Regions from separate parts of the Homo sapiens genome. Here region 1 is linked to region 2. Evidence: promoter capture Hi-C in human tissues and cell types (Jung and others, 2019). All regions are on one chromosome and are shown on one strand. The core of a region is centred on a gene start or on the middle of the fragment in contact, and the rest is flanking DNA. Distances in the headings are between cores, read along the strand shown.

What was found. The method cuts DNA at HindIII sites, captures the fragments that hold promoters and counts their contacts. A contact is called where the count stands out against the background at its distance.
Region 1: a fragment that was not itself captured here is called in contact with the fragment with the promoter of ANKRD53 in region 2 in 1 of the 25 tissues and cell types used here (hippocampus).

The regions. Positions count from the first base shown.
Region 1 is chr2:70,543,221-70,546,969 of GRCh38, forward strand. The region is part of intron 1 of TGFA (transforming growth factor alpha); the gene reads right to left. Among named protein-coding and RNA genes, the nearest start is that of TGFA, 8.7 kb to the right of the region's middle. The HindIII fragment of the contact is 3,627 bases long and covers 1-3,595 here.
Region 2 is chr2:70,976,315-70,979,934 of GRCh38, forward strand. It overlaps ANKRD53 (ankyrin repeat domain 53), which reads left to right and starts at 2,316. Exons shown (of 6, transcript NM_001115116.2): 1 at 2,316-2,501; 2 at 2,783-3,029; 3 at 3,347-3,546. The coding sequence starts at 2,332. All of the region lies in intron 1 of LOC105374795 (a long non-coding RNA gene), which reads right to left. RefSeq lists an enhancer at 946-1,215 and silencers at 2,243-2,332, 2,693-2,752. The HindIII fragment of the contact is 11,444 bases long and covers 1-3,620 here.

The DNA of each region.
Region 1 (3,749 bases), core at 532-3,031, 430 kb before region 2:
CACATTTGTTAAAGTCATATTACTAGGCCTGGCATGGTGGCTCATGCCCGTAATCCCAGCACTTTGGGAGGCTGAGGCAGGTGGATCTCTTGAGTCCAGGAGTTTGAGACCAGCCTGGCCAACATGGCAAAACCCCATCTCTACTAAAGAATACAAAAATTAGCTGGGCATGGTACACAGCTGTAATCCCAGCTACTTGGGAGGCTGAGGCACGAGAATTGCTTGAACTCAGGAGGCAGAGGTTGCAGTGAGCTGAGATTGCGCCACTTCACCCTAGCCTGGGCGACAGAGCGAGACTCTGTCTCAAAAAAAAAAAAAAGAAAAAAAAAGACTACATTAACTGGGGCCACAGATACAAAAAATGTTTCTTTAATTAAAAGGAGTTCATTTATAAATCTATGCTAAAATTTTAGAAATTTGAGTTGAATAGATTGTGAGGAAAATATGTAATTACCAAAACTGACTCAAAAAGTAGAAAATTTGAACTGACCACTAAAAAGGGACCAGGCCAGAAGCTTCTTAGCAATTTCTTTCAAGCCTTCACAAAATTGTTGGTTATCCTGATACTTCAACTAGCAGAACACAAAAAAGATGAGATGCTTTAAAATTTATTTTATAAAGCTGACATAATATTGATATCAAAATCTAAAAAAGAAAACAAAGCCCCAAATACTTCATAATGGAGCAGATCTAGCAGTTTATACAGAGAATAATACCACATAGCCAAGAAGAGTTTATTTCAAGAATTTAAAGGTGGCTTTAACATAATTGAGTCAATCAATGTCCTCAAAACATTTGAGGGAAAAAACCCACACATTATTGCCTCCTGCTTTAAAAAACTAACAAAACAAAAAATGCCAACTCTTTTAGTAAATTATGATGAGAAACATATTTTAACATCATAAAGAATATATGTGTATATATAATATATAACCAAAAAGTCAGCTTCGTACTTAAGTGTTAAATGCGCAAACATTACCCGTAAAGCCATGAAAAATACAAGGATATCTACTGCCTTTTAAGAAACCATGCTCTTAAAGTCCTGGTCTATGCTATAAGTAAGAAGAGATTCAAATATTAATAATTTAATATTTAATAAAAGATTAAAATAAGATATTTAATAAGAGATTAAAATATTAAAAGGAAGGAGGCAAAGTTATTATTATTCAAGCTTAAATGATCATCTACCTAGAAAACCTAAGAGGATCAACTGAAGGACTATTAGAATTAACAAAACTCGTTAAGATATAAATATGAAAAAAAAGCTTTTATATACCAGCAATAACCAATTAGAATAGATAGCAGGGGGAAATGTCTCCCACATTAGAACACAGGTCCACGAGAACTGGAACTCTGCCTCATTCTTGGCTGAATCCCTAGCATCTAGAAGTGGTCCCAGCACAGAACAGGTGCTTGGTAATTATTTGCAGAATAAATGAGTGAACACATTCACAATAAGGGCAAAAATACCAAATAATGGAACCAAACTGATATTCCATAAACAGATTCCAATACTTAAGAATTTAGCATATGAAAATAAACCAGGCACAGAAAGATAAACTTCACATGTTCTCACTTATTCATGGCAGCTGAAAATGAAAACAATTGAACTCATGGAGACAGAGTCGAATGATGGTTACCAGAGGCTAGAAAGGGTAGTGGGTGGTGTGGGAGTGGAGGTGGTTAAAGCGTACAAAAAATAGTTAGAAAGAATAAGATCTAGTATTTGATAGCAGAACAGAGGACTATAGTCAATAATAATTTAATTTTATATTTTAAAATAGCTAAAAGAGTATAATTGGATTGTTTGTATCACAAGGGATAAATGCTTGAGGTCACAGATGCTCCATTTACCTTGATGTGTTTATTACACATTGCATGCCTATATATAAAAATATCTCAGGTACCCTATAAATATATATACCTACTATGTACCCACAAGAATTAAAAATTGTAAAAATGTTGGAAGGAGACCAAGGAGATGAAGGACACGAAGGAGACGAAGGAGATGAAGAAGACAAAGAAGACGAAGATGAAGACGAAGAAAAAGAAGAAGAAGAAGAAGAGGAAGAAGAAGAAAGCATATTGTGTCTCATTTTAAACTGCTAGTAGGGCAGAACTGAGATTTGAATCCAGAGTCTGTGAGAGTCCAAGTCTTGTGCGCTTAGTTCCTATGCCACAGTATGCCCCAGATCTTATAATTTTACAAAGAACCGGTTTTAGTTGTTTTAAAAAAACAGAATTTGTCATATGATGAAAATGGAATTTCAAACCACAGGGGGAAGGGTAGATTATTCCATAAATAGCATTTTAGACTACTAACTGGTTAACTGTTTCAAAAAATGAAAATGAGTTACATCTCACAACATACCCTAGAAAAATTATAGATAAAATATTTCAACATAATATATGAGATCACTAAAGAATTACAAGAAAAAAAGTAAGAAAATATTGGCATATCTTGGAATAAGAAAAGGTTTTCCTAAATATATAAGTAAAGGTAGAACACTAATGGGGAAAGATGCATAGTTTCTGCTACATAAAAATAAAAACCTTAGGTATGTCAAAATACCATAAACAAAACAGTAAAAGATAAAAAATAAATGGGGGAAAATACTTGCAATGTATGACAGAAAAAGGATTACTATTCTTCTCATATAAAGTGTTATTATAAAACTCCAAGAAAAGGATGATCAATCAATAAGAAAAAAATTTTTAAAGGTTAAGATGCAAGTAGCAAAATGACAAATGTCCAACAAATTTACTGACTCTAACAAATACTACATATGAAAACTGGGCTGAGATCATTTTTCTCCAATCAACTTGGCAAATGTTAAATCTAACTTACAGTGTTATGGAAGATCAAGAAAGTGAGAGAAAAGGCCAATTTCTAGAAATTTATTCTAAATATTACAGGATGTGCCAAACATTTCTGTACAAGAATGCCTGTTGTATTACTTCTTTGACTTTAGGCACTATAGATTTAATATATGCTTCTTATAAAAAATTAACCAATTCAGAGCAAGACACTGGAACCTGCCCTTTTAAATTTAGTGTATTGCAAAAACCCTTCATTACTTTTTTTTATTTTTAATGTCAACTTTTATTTTTAGATTCAGGGGTACATGTGCAGGTTTGTTACATGGGTATATCGTGTAATTCTGTGATTTGGGGTACAATTCATTGTTACCCAGATAGTAAGAATGGTGCCCAATAGACAGTTTTTCAACACTTGCTCCCTCTCTCCATCCCAATGAAAAACCTTATTATTATTATTTTTGTTTTGAGACAGGGCCAGGCTGGAGTGCAGTGGCTCAATCATGACTCACTGCAACCTCGACCTCCCAGGCTCCAGTGATCCACCAGCCTCAGCCTCCCAAGTAGCTGGGACTACAGGCATGCACTACCACACCCCGCTAATTTTTCTTTTTTCTTTTTTTTTTGAAGAGATTGTGGGGAGTATCTCACTGGGAGCTGCAGACAAAGCTGTTCCTATCTGGCCATCTTTGATCCAGCCATGGTGGGAGTCTCACTATGTTGCCCAGGCTGGTCTTGAACTCCTGGGCTCAAGTGATCTGCCTGCCTCAACCTCCCAAAGGGCTGGGATTACAGGTGTGAGCCACCTTGCTTGGCCAGAAAACCTTTTAATAGCTAAATCTTTTAAATAGCTACACAGTAAATCATTGTACTGACATAGAAAAATAAAGGATTTAAGAAATCTCCTTAAATAATTATAGCAGTGTGGTACT
Region 2 (3,620 bases), core at 1,066-3,565:
AGAAGGGATGAGAATGTGGATGGCTCAGTAAGACAACACTGATTCAAGCAACAGTTATTGCTTAGCTACTCTATATTCTAAAAAGTCAAAAGGCAAACTGAGGAAAATATTGACAACAAATATAACATACATAAAGGGTCACTATGCTAATAAGTTTTACAGATCAGTAAGAAACACATTAAGGCCCTCAAAGAACCATGTGAGTAAAAGAATTCCTAGAAGACAAAACCACTGATAATTAAATGTTTAACCCTTGTTGGTAATCAAAGAGCCACATTAGAACATCATTTCCACTACCAAATTAGTGAACATTTACTTAAAATCCTAATATCTGATGCTAGCAATGGTTTGAATAGTTCTTCTTTGAGTAATAGCAGATTCACAGGTAGTGCTTCTCTGCTAGCACTGTTCTCATTGTTTGCATTCCTTCATTCCTTGTAAAGTAGGTGCTATTATCCCCATTTTGCTGCTGTAGCAACTTGTAGGGACCAGCCCCACAGGGTGGGTGGGTTTTTCTCCCCGTGTGCGGAGATGAGAGATTGTAGAAATAAAGACACAAGACAAAGAGATAAAAGAAAAGACAGCTGGGCCCGGGGGACCACTACCACCAAGAGGGCAGAGATCGGTAGTGGCCCCGAATGCCTGGCTGTGCTGTTATTTATTGGATACAAGGCAAAAGGGGCAGGGTAAGGAGTGTGAGTCATCTCCAATGATTGATAAGGTCACGTGAGTCACGTGTCCACCGGACAGGGGGCCCTTCCCTGCTTGGCAGCCGAGGTGGGTGGGGGTGGGGGCGGGGACAGGGGGAGGGAGAGAGAGAGAGAGAGAGAGGACAGCTTACGCCATTATTTCTGTGTATCAGAGACTTTTAGTACTTTCACTAATTTTGCTACTGCTATCTAGAAGGCAGAGCCAGATGTACAGGATGGAACATGAAAGTGAAACAGGAGTGTGACCGCTGAAGTACAGCGTCACAGGGAGATGTTTAGGCCTCCAGATAACTGTGGGCGGGCCTGACTGATGTCAAGCCCTCCACAAAAGGTGGTGGAGTAAAGTCTTCTCTAAACTCCCCCTGGGAAAGGGAGACTCCCTTTCCCGGTCTGCTAAGTAGCGGGTGCTTTTCCTTTGCATTGATGCTACCGCTAGACCACGGTCCGCCAGACCAGGGTCCGCCAGACCACGGTCCACTTGGTAACCGGCGTCTTCCCAGACGCTGGCATTACCGCTAGATCAAGGAGCCCTCTGGTGGCCCTGTCCGGACATAACAGAAGGCTCGCACTCTTGTCTTCTGGTCACTTCTCACTATGTCCCTTTGGTTCCTATCTCTCTATGGCCTGGTTTTTCCTAGGTTATGATTATAGAGCGAGGATTATTACAATATTGGAATAAAGAGTAATTGCTACAAACTAATGATTAACGATATTCATATATAATCACGTCTATGATCTAGATCTAGATCTAGTATAACTCTTGTTGTTTTGTATATTTTATTATACTGGAACAGCTTGTGCCCTCGGTCTCTTGCCTTGGCACCTGGGTGGCTTGCCGCCCACAGAAACTAAGTCAGATAACTTGCCAAAAGCCACACTGCTGATGTGCAGCGCACCCGCTTCACTGCAGGTGGAAGTGGAAGTGAATAATAACCTTCCTGGAAGGCAGTCTGCAAGCCCATATTGACAGCTGAAAAATATTCATTCCCTTTCACCTAGTGATTCGACTCCCAGGAATCCATTCTAAGAAAACAACCAGAGTTGAGCCATTTCGTTCTTGGCAGCACATGTGAAACAATGGCACATCCATTATGACGCTGGGCTCTGGTTGCGTCATAATGTACGTTTAGTATGTGGAGTGACAATGGGCGCTAGCTCGTAATATAATGCTATTAATAAACGAAAAGAGATACAAAAAATAGTCATGATATGCATATATATTGCAATAAACCATGATTTCTGTGCGTGGTGGGATGGTAATTTTTAATTTCCACATTGAATATTTCTGTTTTCTACTTATTAGTTTGATAATCGGAAACAAAAGCCAAGTGTCTTTGTTGTTTGTGTGTTTGATGCTGAGTTTCCCGGGCAGCAGGACTGGGAGGTTGAGTGGGGGTTTTGGCTCAGACCGGGAGCAGAGCGGCGGGTGGGGAGCGGCAGGCGGGCAGGGTCCCCGGAGGCCCCCGGGCTCTGCCCCTCCAGCTAGAGAGGCAGCCGAACCCTAGCGGCCTGGAAGGGGCCGGGAAACCGCGGCCAGCTGGCAAGGAGTGGCCCCCGGGGGCGGGGCGCCGGCGGGTGTGTGAGTAGCCCGCCCGGCCCGGGTCCGAGTTCCAGCCCCGCGATGGCCTCCGCGGGCAGCACCGCTCGGCGGGCGGGCTCCGGAAGCTGGCACTCAGAAAGGGGAGAAGGGAGAGGTGCTCGGCCGCAGCCAACTCCAAGTGGCTCCATGCAGCAGGCGAACAAAGTCTCCTTGAAGGCCACCTGGACTGACGCGGAGTCCAAGCAGCCCAGGTGGGTAGCGGGAGAAGGTGTCCCGGCTGCAGGGAGCGAGAACCCGGCCCAGCGCCTCCCTGGTGGGCAGGGCCTGGAGCGGGCGGGGGCGGAGGCTGCGGCCCGAGAAGCCAGCAGAGACAGGCTGGGGCCAGGGATCGCCTCCCGAGAGGTGCCTAGGCCGTGGCCCAGAGTCGCTTCCCCACTGCCCCGCCCACCAGCCAGGCGGGGGCCAGGGATCGCCTCCCGAGAGGTGCCCGGGCCGTGGCCCAGAGTCGCTTCCCCACTGCCCCGCCCTCCAGCCAGCCCCTGCCCGACCTCGCAGACCACCTCAGTGCGCAGGCGACTGCCCTCGCCAGGCCGCGCCGCCCTGCCTCGCTCACCCCGCCCCGCGCTGACCCCAGCCCCAGCAAGGAGTCCGACCAGACGGCAATCGACCAGACGGCGATCGGGAGCTACTACCAGCTGTTCGCAGCGGCTGTGGGCAACGTGGAATGGCTGCGATTCTGTCTGAACCAGAGCCTCAGGGAAATCCCCACCGACGACAAGGTAAGGTCTTGAGTGTTGGGGCAAAGACCGAGGTCCCTCTCCCGCTACGCTGCTCGGAGTGGTCACCTGGAGAAGAGATATCCTTTTCTGGGTAGATCTTCCTAATTTAACTCATCTTCTGGCTGTGGAAGGACCATTTTGGGGGCAGGGAGGTTGGGTGGGCTGATGAACACACACTGGTTAATTAGCAAAAGGGTGTGAGCATTCCTGGGGACACAGGGAAGAAAGTGAAGGTAACCCCAATAAATTTATATAAATTGTGGACCCTGGGACCTCAGTCCCACTCAGCCTCCTCCTGCCTGCTCTGAACCTCACAGGGCTTCACTGCCATCCACTTCGCCGCCCAATGGGGCAAGCTTGCATGCCTGCAGGTCCTGGTAGAGGAGTACAAGTTTCCCGTGGACCTGCTGACCAACAATAGCCAGACACCCCTGCACCTCGTCATCCACAGGGACAACACCACCGTGGCCCTCCCCTGCATCTACTACCTGCTGGAGAAAGGCGCAGACCTCAATGCGTGAGTCCAGCCTGCTTCAGGAGGGAGGCTTCGGGCACAGGCACGGGCACAGCCCTACTTCCAGGCAGGCAAAT